Linked DNA regions of Homo sapiens: regions 1 and 3 are each linked to region 2. Evidence: promoter capture Hi-C in 16 types of primary human blood cells and fetal thymus (Javierre and others, 2016). All regions are on one chromosome and are shown on one strand. Each heading gives the region's core, a stretch centred on a gene start or on the middle of the fragment in contact. The rest is flanking DNA. Distances are from core to core; before and after follow the strand shown.

Region 1 (3,257 bases), core at 688-3,187, 410 kb after region 2:
TCTTTTAAGGGGAAAAAATAAAATTATCATCACTCTTTGATAGCAACACTTCATGCCAGACCAAAAAAAAAAGAAAGAAAGTAATATAATGAAGGCACTCAAAGAAAGAAAATGTGAGCTGAGGATTTTAAATCCAAGAAAACTGACCTTCATGTATAAGGAAGACAAACATGGCAGATACAGGGAATATTGTTCCTATGATCATTTCCTTAAAAATCTACTACAGAATGAGGCTTCAGACAACCAAAGCGACCACAGAGAGCTCAGCATAAGGACTAGTGGTACTAAACATGGAGGTACTTATAAAACTAAGAGTCAATGAGAGCTGGAGCTGAGGCAGAGAGTGTATGTAGTGGCTGTATGCTCAGACAGCGTAAACACAGTGCACCTATTTTTCAAATGTACAAAGAATGGGGAAAACACATAAAATTTTTTTTCAACTGCTTTAGTAATTATCTGGTAGTGTCATCTTAAATTTGAATAGAAAAGATAAGTACGCTCTTGTTAGGCACTTTATATTAACAACAACAAAATTCTAGCTCTGTCCATTGAAAAAGCCTAGAAACAAAGATCAACCCAATACTGATGAATATTACTAGCAGGCAGATTGTGGTTCTGAAATATCATTTCCCACTAAAAGAAACCAGAGCGGTCTGGGCGCGGTGGCTCATGCCTGTAATCCTAGCACTTTGGGAGGCCGAGGCAGGCGGTTCACGAGGTCAGGAGTTCGAGAGCAGCCTGACCAACATGGTGAAACCCCGTCTCTACTAAAAATACAAAAATTAGCTGGGCACAGTGGTGCGCGCCTGTAATCCCAGCTACTCGGGAGGCTAAGGCAGGAGAATCGCTTGAATCCGGGAAGCAGAGGTTGCAGTGAGCCAAAATAGCGGCACTGCACTCCAGCCTAAGCGACAGAGTAAGACTCTGTCTCAAAAAAAAAAAAAAAAAAAAGAAAGAAAGAAACCAGAGTTTCTCAGATAAATGGTTGATTCCGGATCTGAGGCAGGAAATGTACAAGATGGTCCTGGAGCTTTTGCAACACCAGATAGTGAAGAAGCTAGCAAAGTTCACCTAGTCACAACAAAAGCACTTAGAGGGCCAACTTGAAGCAGCTCCCACTGGCCAAAGATGGGACAATTTGAGCTTCAAATAGGATAATAATTATAACTGATTGAAATCCATCAAATATGCTAAACTCCATGAATTCATAATGACATGTTAAAAAAAACCTAATTAGTTGGCTGGGCGCGGTGGCACATGCCTGTAATCCCATCACTTTGAGAGGCCGCGGCGGCGGATCACGAGGTCAGAAGATTAAGACCATCCTGTCTAACATGGTGAAACCCCGTCTCTACTAAAAATACAAAAAATTAGCCAGGTTTGGTGGCGGGCGCCTATAGGCCCAGCTACTCGGGAGGCTGAGGCAGGAGAATGGCGTGAACCTGGGAGGCAGAGCTTGCAGTGAGCCAGGATCGAGCCACTGCACTCCAGCCTGGGCGACAGAGCAAGACTCTGTCTCAAAAAACAAAACAAAACAAAACAAAAAAACAAACAAACCTAATTAGTCATCGTCAAAAGATAATAAGGAAACAATTTATTACCCTGATGATAAAGGAAAATGCAATTATCCTGCCTTTCCTATATGAACTGGACAACCAAATAGTAGATAAGGGAAACATTTCTTTAAAAAGTATTCCAACTAATAAATGAAAAATAAACACAGAATTATCACTATTTACCACCACCAATGAACTAATAGATCTAGGCACTGAATATTAACAGCTGCTAACATGACAGAGATAAGATGTGCCTCTGACGAAAGAACACAGCATCACCTCTAGTTTTGCCAAACGGACAGAACATGAGTGTGACAGAGATTCTGGATCCAGCTGCCAATTTGGGGAAAATACAGGGTTGAGGAAAATATACAACTTCACCACAGATACATATCCAGAAAAACCTACTATGGGCACTTAATAGGTCAAATGCCCTTGGTTCCCCAACAGTAATCTATATTTTCAATTAGTGAGCCCAAAATAAGTATTTAAATAACTATTTGTAGTTTTAGACTTTACTTGATTGACATAAATCTTTGAAATTCTCTGAAAAGCAACCATCAACAGAATTTTACTTATGAATTACTATAAAAACCAAAGATTTACTTTAAAGCATCATTTCATAAAAAACCAAGACCATTTTTATATAAACATGGAAAAACCAGTGATATGTTTAGCTGTATTAACTAATTACAGAATCTAATGCATAACTGGTCTTTTTAGCTAGAGTTCTTTCCCCTTCTCTTGAATTTCCTCATATATCATGAAGCCTCAGAAACACTGGAATGTACATGCTCAGGGTTGTCCCCCAGTAGAAGTGATGGGCTGCTTTGAGCCGTTCTTACTGATGTCTGGTCTGATCCCTGGGTGGTCATCAACATAAAATGGTGTGGTATCTGGCCACAGACTGGCCACAGAATAGCATTTTTCTCTCAACTAAGTTACTTCAACTTCCAAAATAATTATACAGAGAACCCTGAACTCATTAGGAGTATCCGCCAATCAATTTCATCTAGACTGTAAAATCTACACACAACATTTTATGATGTTTTCTAACAGCAAACAAATTTGCATTTCTTTTTTATTCCTTTTAGAAAAAGGTTTTGGTTAGATTTTGCCAGCCCGAGGTAGACCTGTTAAAGAGAATAGGAGACTATGTAGCTTCAGGCAAATGAAATATATTCTAAATTACAGAAGGGAATTAGGCACAGCTGTATCTAAAAGAATAGACACAAATGGCTGGAATAGATGGAGAGCCAGAATTTAACAGTTACCTCAGAAATGTTTTTGTCAGTTTCTTTTCTTTTTTCTTCCAGTTTCCTTTCAATACCTACAATTCCTACAGCCCTTATTCTTCCTGGCTGAAAAAAAAAAGAGGTAGAAAATAAAACATACAAAATAGGAAGGAAACAAAATCTTTTGTAACCAACCACATTGTGTTTTCAATGGCGGGAAAGGACCTACAAAGAACCAAAGAAAAACAGCATACACGGACATTTAGCTTCCCTTCAAAACATGTGTTTGTTTCTTGCTGTACATAATGATCTTAAAATCATTCAGGAAAAACCAAATATACAATAAATGGCATATTTTACTCTGCATTTTAGAGATAAGTTAAATTTCCTATCATTTTCCTTCTTTGGCAAGCTATTACGTATCAGATACTTAATAGGGTCTCAAATGTACAAAAAAAATCACAGT
Region 2 (3,728 bases), core at 862-3,361:
AGTTATTTGTTTTGCATGTCTGTTTTCTCCACTGGACTGAACTTCTGAAGATAAAGACTCTCTCTCATCTCCATACCCCCAAAACCTGGCATCTCATTACTAGATGCTTAATAAATTTGTTTTTTTTTTTTTTTTTCAGATGGAGTTTCATTGTTGTTGCCCAGGCTGGAGTGCAGTGGTGCGATCTTGGCTCACCACAACCTCCGCCTACTGGGTTCAAGCAATTCTCCTGCCTCAGCCTCCCAAGTAGCTGGGATTACAGGCATGTGCCACCACACCACACATATTGGTCAGGCTGGTCTTGAACTCCTGACCTCAGGTGATCCACCCGCCTCGGCCTCCCAAAGTGCTGGGATTACAGGCGTGAGCCACTGCACCCAGCCAATAAATGTTTTATGACTCAAAGAATAATTATAAACAGAGGGAGACCAAAGTATTACAAGTCATTAAAGAATATACTTTTAGATATTTTCATACTAATTATATCTAATTGTGATATAGGCACAAGATCTAGCTTTTAAAGACTTGCATTTTTCAGATAAAAACCCTGAGTATTGCTTTAGTATTGTGATCCTATCTGAAGACAGGTTTGTTGAATCTTAATTCTTGTTTATAGTATTTTATTACCATTTTTTTTACTAAGAACACTGTCAAAACTTTTTAGTATTTCTTTAGACCATCTCATTCATAAATCAACACTTACTGTTGATGCCTGTTCTGTGTGAAACCCTCAGTGGAGGAAATAGCAAAGAACTAGAAGTCATGGTCTCATTTGAAGGACTGTACTTCTAATTCAATAAAAAATGTAGAAAACATCATTTTTAGTATGACCAACATGGAGAAACCCTGACTCTACTAAAAATACAAAATTAGCCGGGCGTGGTGGTGCATGTCTGTAATTCCAGCTACTCGGGAGGCTGAGGCGGGAGAAGCACTTGAACCCGGGAGGCAGAGATTGTCAGCCAAGATGGCGCCATTGCACTCCAGCCTGGGCAACAAGAGTGAAACTGTCTCCAAAAAAAAAAAAAAAATCAAATCTTCTTTATAACTGTAAGAAAATAGTTATCTACAACTTTTTGCTTGATTTTAACCTAATATATTCTTTTTTTTGTTTTTGTTTTTGTTTTTTTGAGACGGAGTTTCACACTTGTTGCCCAGGCAGGAGTGCAGTGATGCAGTCTCGGCTCTCAGTCTCTCAGGGTAGGTAGCAGGCTTTTTTTTTTTTTTTTTTTTGAGATGGAGTCTCACTCTGTCACCCAGGCTGGAGTTCGGTGGCATGATCACGGCTCACTGCAACCTCCGCCTCCTGGGTTCAAGCGATTCTCCTGCCTCAGCCTCCTGAGTAGCTGGGATTACAGGTGCGTGCCACCGTGTCTGGCTAATTTTTGTAACTTAATATATTCTTAACCATTACATTCTATTTTAGGTATCCTGAAGCAGTTTATGTTGTTTATACCGGCGATGTTAATGTCAACGGTCAACAGATACTAGAAGGTGCTTTCAGAAGATTTAACATCAGATTAATTCACCCAGTGCAGTTTGTTTTTTTAAGGAAACGCTATCTTGTGGAAGATTCACTGTATCCTCACTTCACACTGCTGGGCCAAAGTCTAGGATCCATTTTTCTTGGCTGGGAAGCTCTAATGCAGTGTGTTCCTGATGTTTACATTGATTCAATGGGATACGCTTTTACGCTTCCTCTGTTTAAGTATATAGGGGGTTGCCAAGTTGGAAGCTATGTTCATTATCCTACTATCAGCACCGACATGCTCTCTGTAGTGAAGAATCAAAATATTGGATTTAATAATGCAGCCTTCATTACCAGGAATCCTTTTCTCAGCAAAGTAAAGCTCATCTACTACTATTTATTTGCTTTTATTTATGGACTTGTTGGTTCTTGCAGTGATGTAGTCATGGTCAATTCTTCTTGGACACTAAACCATATTCTCTCACTATGGAAAGTTGGGAATTGCACTAACATTGTTTATCCACCTTGTGATGTGCAGACATTTCTGGACATTCCCTTACATGAGAAAAAGATGACCCCAGGACATTTGCTGGTTTCTGTTGGCCAGTTTAGGCCGGAAAAGAATCATCCATTGCAGATCAGAGCCTTTGCTAAATTGCTGAATAAGAAGATGGTTGAGTCACCTCCTTCGCTTAAACTTGTCCTCATTGGAGGTTGTCGTAACAAAGATGATGAACTTAGGGTAAACCAACTGAGAAGGCTGTCTGAGGATTTAGGAGTTCAAGAATATGTGGAATTTAAAATAAACATTCCATTTGATGAATTAAAGAATTATTTGTCTGAAGCAACAATTGGTCTGCATACCATGTGGAACGAGCATTTTGGGATTGGTGAGTTTGGCCTTTAAACAACTTGTTTGGTGCCATGAGATACACATTTTAAGTTCTTTTGATAAAATGATAATACTCTGGAAATCTGCATCATGCCCTAATTCTCTTGCCCTCATCCACCAAATGTGCTTTCCTCACTTGAGACCTTGTAAGATAGTAGTTAATAATAGCAGCTAGTATTTATTGACCAATTCCTGTGTGTGGGCCACTGTGTTGAGATTTTTACATGTATTATCTAATTTAAGCCTTTCTAAACCCGTTTGATAGGTGTTATTGTTATTCCCATTTTATAAATAAAGAAACTCAGGCACAGGAAGGTTTAGAAATTGCTCGAGTTCAGTTACACAGTAAGTGGTAGAGCCCGGATTCTAACCCAGATAGCCCCTGCTCTTAACAGCAACATTTTCTCTCTCCATCTAACCCCACTACATACTTACTGGTACAGATTCCTGGGCCCTACCCTAATCCTACAGAATGGCCAAATGAGAATCTCTGGACAAGGCCCAGGTAGATGTATTTTGATAATGCTGCTTAAGTGATTCTGTTATGCATCAAAAGTTGAGAACCACTGTTTGCATAGGGGCTTCTCACAGTAACTCTTTTAGTCTTTTATTGATTCTACCCTCACCATTGGAATGGCTCTCCTCTTTGTGCCAGATTGCATCATAAGTCTTCAACTTAAATCTCCTTGCACTTTAGCCTTTCTTGTTTATTCTGGCACAAACTGCTATCTCTATTCTGACCTGTTAAGCACACATTTTGCTATAAAATCAAGTACTGCTTTGTGTTTAATTTGGGTCCACATATATTTCTCAAGCGCTTTGTGCCTCACACTGTTAGTTGTTAGGGGAAATGAGGATAACATAAAAGTGACATTTCCTAAACTAAGACTTCAATTTCTCTTATACTCTTTTTACTCCTAGTTAGTAGTGTAGTGCTAGGCCCAGACATTAAGCAAGAACTTGTTGACCCAACCTGTTGCATGGGATCTGACCTCCTGTGCTTCCTTCCATAGAAACTTACTAAGCATTCACTCTGCTGAGCGCTTGGGTGGATGCTAGGGATGTGGTGGAGACAGGAGCTGCTTGGCCTGTCAGAGGCTTCCCACCCTCTGGTGGTACCAACAGGCTACACAGGCAAGTGCCGTGCCGTGCTGTGCCGTGTGCCAGGTGCTATGCTAAGGAAGTGCAGGGTGATGTGAAAGCGCCAAAGAGAAACCTAACACAGACTTGTGCGGGCAGGGAACAGTTGCCCAAGGAAATGATGTGACACTTGAGCAGGACCCGAACAATAGAGGTTAGCCAGGAGAGAGGGGAGAGTCTCCAGCAGAGGGAACAGCACTGTGACAGGAGTGACAACAGATGCATCAA
Region 3 (3,356 bases), core at 352-2,851, 450 kb after region 2:
ATAATCCTTTGTTCTTATTTCATATATAGCATTTATTTCATTTTATAATAGTATTTGTTATATAGTTGGCAGCAGTATTTGCTGAGGAAAAGGAATGGTTCAGAGATGGCAATCGTGTTCTTTTATTTTGAAAATGTGGCCAACTAGGAACAACTTTAATGTCTTCTGATTTTGTTCTTAAAATTCAGCCAAAAGCTTAATCTATAAATGTATTTTCTATAGGAGAAAATATGGAGAAGTCTTGTGCAAGCAAGGAAGAAGTCAAAGAAGTCAGTATTGAAGATACAGGTGTTGATGTAGATCCAGAAAAACTGGAAATGGAGAGTAAACTTCATAGAAATTTGCTATTTCAAGATTGTGAAAAAGAGCAAGACAACAAAACAAAAGATCCAACCCATGATGTTAAAACCCCCAATACAGAAACGAGGACAAGTTGCTTAATTAAATATAATGTGTCTACTACGCCATACTTGCAAAGGTAAACTTTTAAAATGTACCATGATTTGTTTTCATGCTTGGAGATAATAAATAACGGCATTTAAAAATCTTTGAGATAGCTTCAGATTACAGCTACCATTTATTAATATAGAAATTTCAGTACGGGCATGGTGGCTCACGCCTGTAATTTCAGCACTTTGGGAGGCCGAAGCAGACAGATCACTTGAGCCCAGGAGTTCAAGACTATCCTGGGCAACATGGCAAAACCCCATCTCTACAAAAAATAAAAAAAATTTTGGCTGGGCAAGGTGCTGTGTGCCTGTAGTCCCAGCTACCTGGGAGGCTGAGGTGAGAGGATCACTTGAGCCCAGGAGGCAGAGGTTGCAGTGAGCCAAGATCATGCCACTGTCCTCCAGCCTGGATGACAGAGCGAGACCCTGTCTCAAAACAAAAAAGAAAACAGAAAAGTTTTTAAACAAATAGAATGTCATTAGAACATTTCACCTCTTAAATACTGTATTTACTTTCCCTAACTATTGCCATTTTGAAAAAGAAAACTTTTATTTGAATTTACTTTAATCTGTGTGTTATTAATAACAGTAGGTTTTGGCTTTCAGGAATTAGCCAGTTCTACAGATACTCAGGTATCTACTGTATACAAGTTGTAATGACAAATTGAGAAAAGGATAAGTTTCTCACTTCGGTGAGCTTATAGTACCTCTCTAAAAGACAATTAAATGCTTTTACCTGCTTATAACATACAAGCTATATAGTATGGTACATATCATGAAAGTACAGAGTAAAAATGTTAACATGTTTTTGAACTCTGGAATATTGTTTTAATTTTCAGTGTGAAAAAAAAGGTGCAGTTTGATGGAACAAATTCCGCATTTAAAGAGCTGAAGTTTTTAACACCAGTGAGACGTTCTCGACGTCTTCAAGAGAAAACTTCTAAATTGCCAGATATGTTAAAAGATCATTATCCTTGTGTGTCTTCATTGGAACAGCTAACGGAGTTGGGAAGAGAAACTGATGCTTTTGTATGCCGCCCTAATGCAGCACTGTGCCGGGTGTACTATGAGGCTGATACAACATAAGAGAAATAAAGCTCTGTTAGGGAATGGGGTTTTTATTATTTGTGGGGTGTTTTGTTTTGAGTAGCTTTATATTGCTCTTAGGTCTGGAGTTGGCCATGTACCTATGTATCCTAAGCATTCACGGCAGTGAGCTCCTTTACTAACATTCATGTTATGGCAAGAGTTGTCCTCTACATTGGAAAGCTAATCCTACCTTGTCAGTTTCAACCAACTGAGTTTTTTCTTTAAGAAAGGTAAATTTTGTCAGCTAGTTTACTATGTTCCTTGAATATAAACAGGTTATAATACTACCCTGTTCACTTTACTAAATATAAGTACAGTAATGATGCATAATTAGAAAATGAGGTATTCTAGGTAAAATGTATGTTTGCCTTGACATGTTTTTAAAAGTTATGATGTACCTCCCTGCCTTTAAACAGAATACTTTTTTCTTTTTTTTGGCCTTTCTCAGATTAGTCAAAAATTCTATAGAATGACTCACTTCGAATACTAAGACACAGGAGGTTTAGCCTGCTTTCTTACCAAATTCATGTTACCCAGACTTGTGTTCTCTTGCGTCCCTTGGACTGCCTGTTGATTGATGGAAAGTGTCTGCACTGACACTTTTCGTCAGTAGTCTGTAGTTTCGTGGCCTCTTTTGATTATAACTGGGGTCACCAAGAAGGTTTACTTAATTAAATACCGCATTTCTAAGAGAAGATACTTTGTGTAAGAAAAGATGCCACATTTAGTGGTTTAACTTTTGTAACTTCACTTGATAGTTTTTAAGCAATTAGAATGGAGTTAGGGAAAGAACATATCATACTGAACAAATGTCATTCTAGTTTAGATAGCATTTCTAAGATAACTGATACTAATACTTGTTTTCTTCCCTATAACATAAAAAACTTCACTGTTAAGTCATGTCCCTTGAAACATGATAGTTACATACACAGTTTTCTCTCCACACATAAATAACACCACTAAAGTTGTTTTGTAAGGTTCCAAACTAATATGGCATATATCAACTCTACAGTTTCAAATAAATGACTTTTTAATTGTAAAAGATTAGTTGAAAAACTGTATGAATGTGAAGATCACATGCTTAGTCATTTTTATGTTCATTCCACTTTGTATATCTTTTCTATTTATTGACTTCTCATGTTCTAGAGAGTAGGACTTTTATTCCGTGTACCTGATATATATACAATTAAAATATCTGTGTAATTATGTTTTAATGAAGTTTATTTCAACAGATATTTTATGAAATGCAGTTTAACCACAGTGAATGAATTTTAGCTTTGCTTTTGAAATACATTGTAAGATTTGACTTGAGGTTTTTGACACTTAAGTACATGCTTAATGATATATTTTCAAAAGTCATCAGTCTACTTACATAAACTTTACCTAATTTTTTTCACTTTAACAAAAACATAACTATGCCCTTGTTTTTTCATACTTTGACCCAAAATATGCCATTTTGAAATAAAATTTAAGCTTTGATACACTCTCAGCTTTTTAATATCTGTACCATATAATTCATTTGTCTGTATAGCAGAGTTTGAAATGCCTCTGTTAGAGAACTCAAGATACAACTTTTATGTTTGGACAAGTTTTTAAGAGTGTTTTTTTTCCTCCTTTACCTGAGGGGAAAATCTGTCTCTAAATATTCCTAGTTCTAACATTCAACCAGAGGTCTAACCCCTTTTCTGGTGCTTAAGGACAGCTATGTTATCTCTCCCCTAGGTTTGTTCCAAGCTAAATGATGTGATACCGTGCATAAGCATCCAGTAGAGACATAACAGGGACCCCTCTTAAGGGCCCGCTTGGATCTTCCCGTGT

The links. The method cuts DNA at HindIII sites, captures the fragments that hold promoters and counts their contacts. A CHiCAGO score of 5 or more calls a contact.
Region 1: a contact is called between a fragment that was not itself captured here and the fragment with the promoter of UTP14C in region 2, in 1 of 17 cell types (neutrophils). The highest score is 5.7, in neutrophils.
Region 3: a contact is called between a fragment that was not itself captured here and the fragment with the promoter of UTP14C in region 2, in 1 of 17 cell types (neutrophils). The highest score is 6.9, in neutrophils.

The regions. Positions count from the first base shown.
Region 1 is chr13:52,430,832-52,434,088 of GRCh38, forward strand. It overlaps VPS36 (vacuolar protein sorting 36 homolog), which reads right to left. Exons shown (of 14, transcript NM_016075.4): 6 at 2,831-2,917. Among named protein-coding and RNA genes, the nearest start is that of VPS36, 18 kb to the right of the region's middle. The HindIII fragment of the contact is 7,600 bases long and covers 1-3,257 here.
Region 2 is chr13:52,022,580-52,026,307 of GRCh38, forward strand. UTP14C (UTP14C small subunit processome component) reads left to right here and starts at 2,112. Exons shown (of 2, transcript NM_021645.6): 1 at 2,112-2,358. It overlaps ALG11 (ALG11 alpha-1,2-mannosyltransferase), which reads left to right. Exons shown (of 4, transcript NM_001004127.3): 3 at 1,427-2,358. The HindIII fragment of the contact is 12,744 bases long and covers 1-3,728 here.
Region 3 is chr13:52,473,607-52,476,962 of GRCh38, forward strand. It overlaps CKAP2 (cytoskeleton associated protein 2), which reads left to right. Exons shown (of 9, transcript NM_018204.5): 8 at 223-478; 9 at 1,289-3,021. The coding sequence ends at 1,535. Among named protein-coding and RNA genes, the nearest start is that of CKAP2, 20 kb to the left of the region's middle. The HindIII fragment of the contact is 2,816 bases long and covers 194-3,009 here.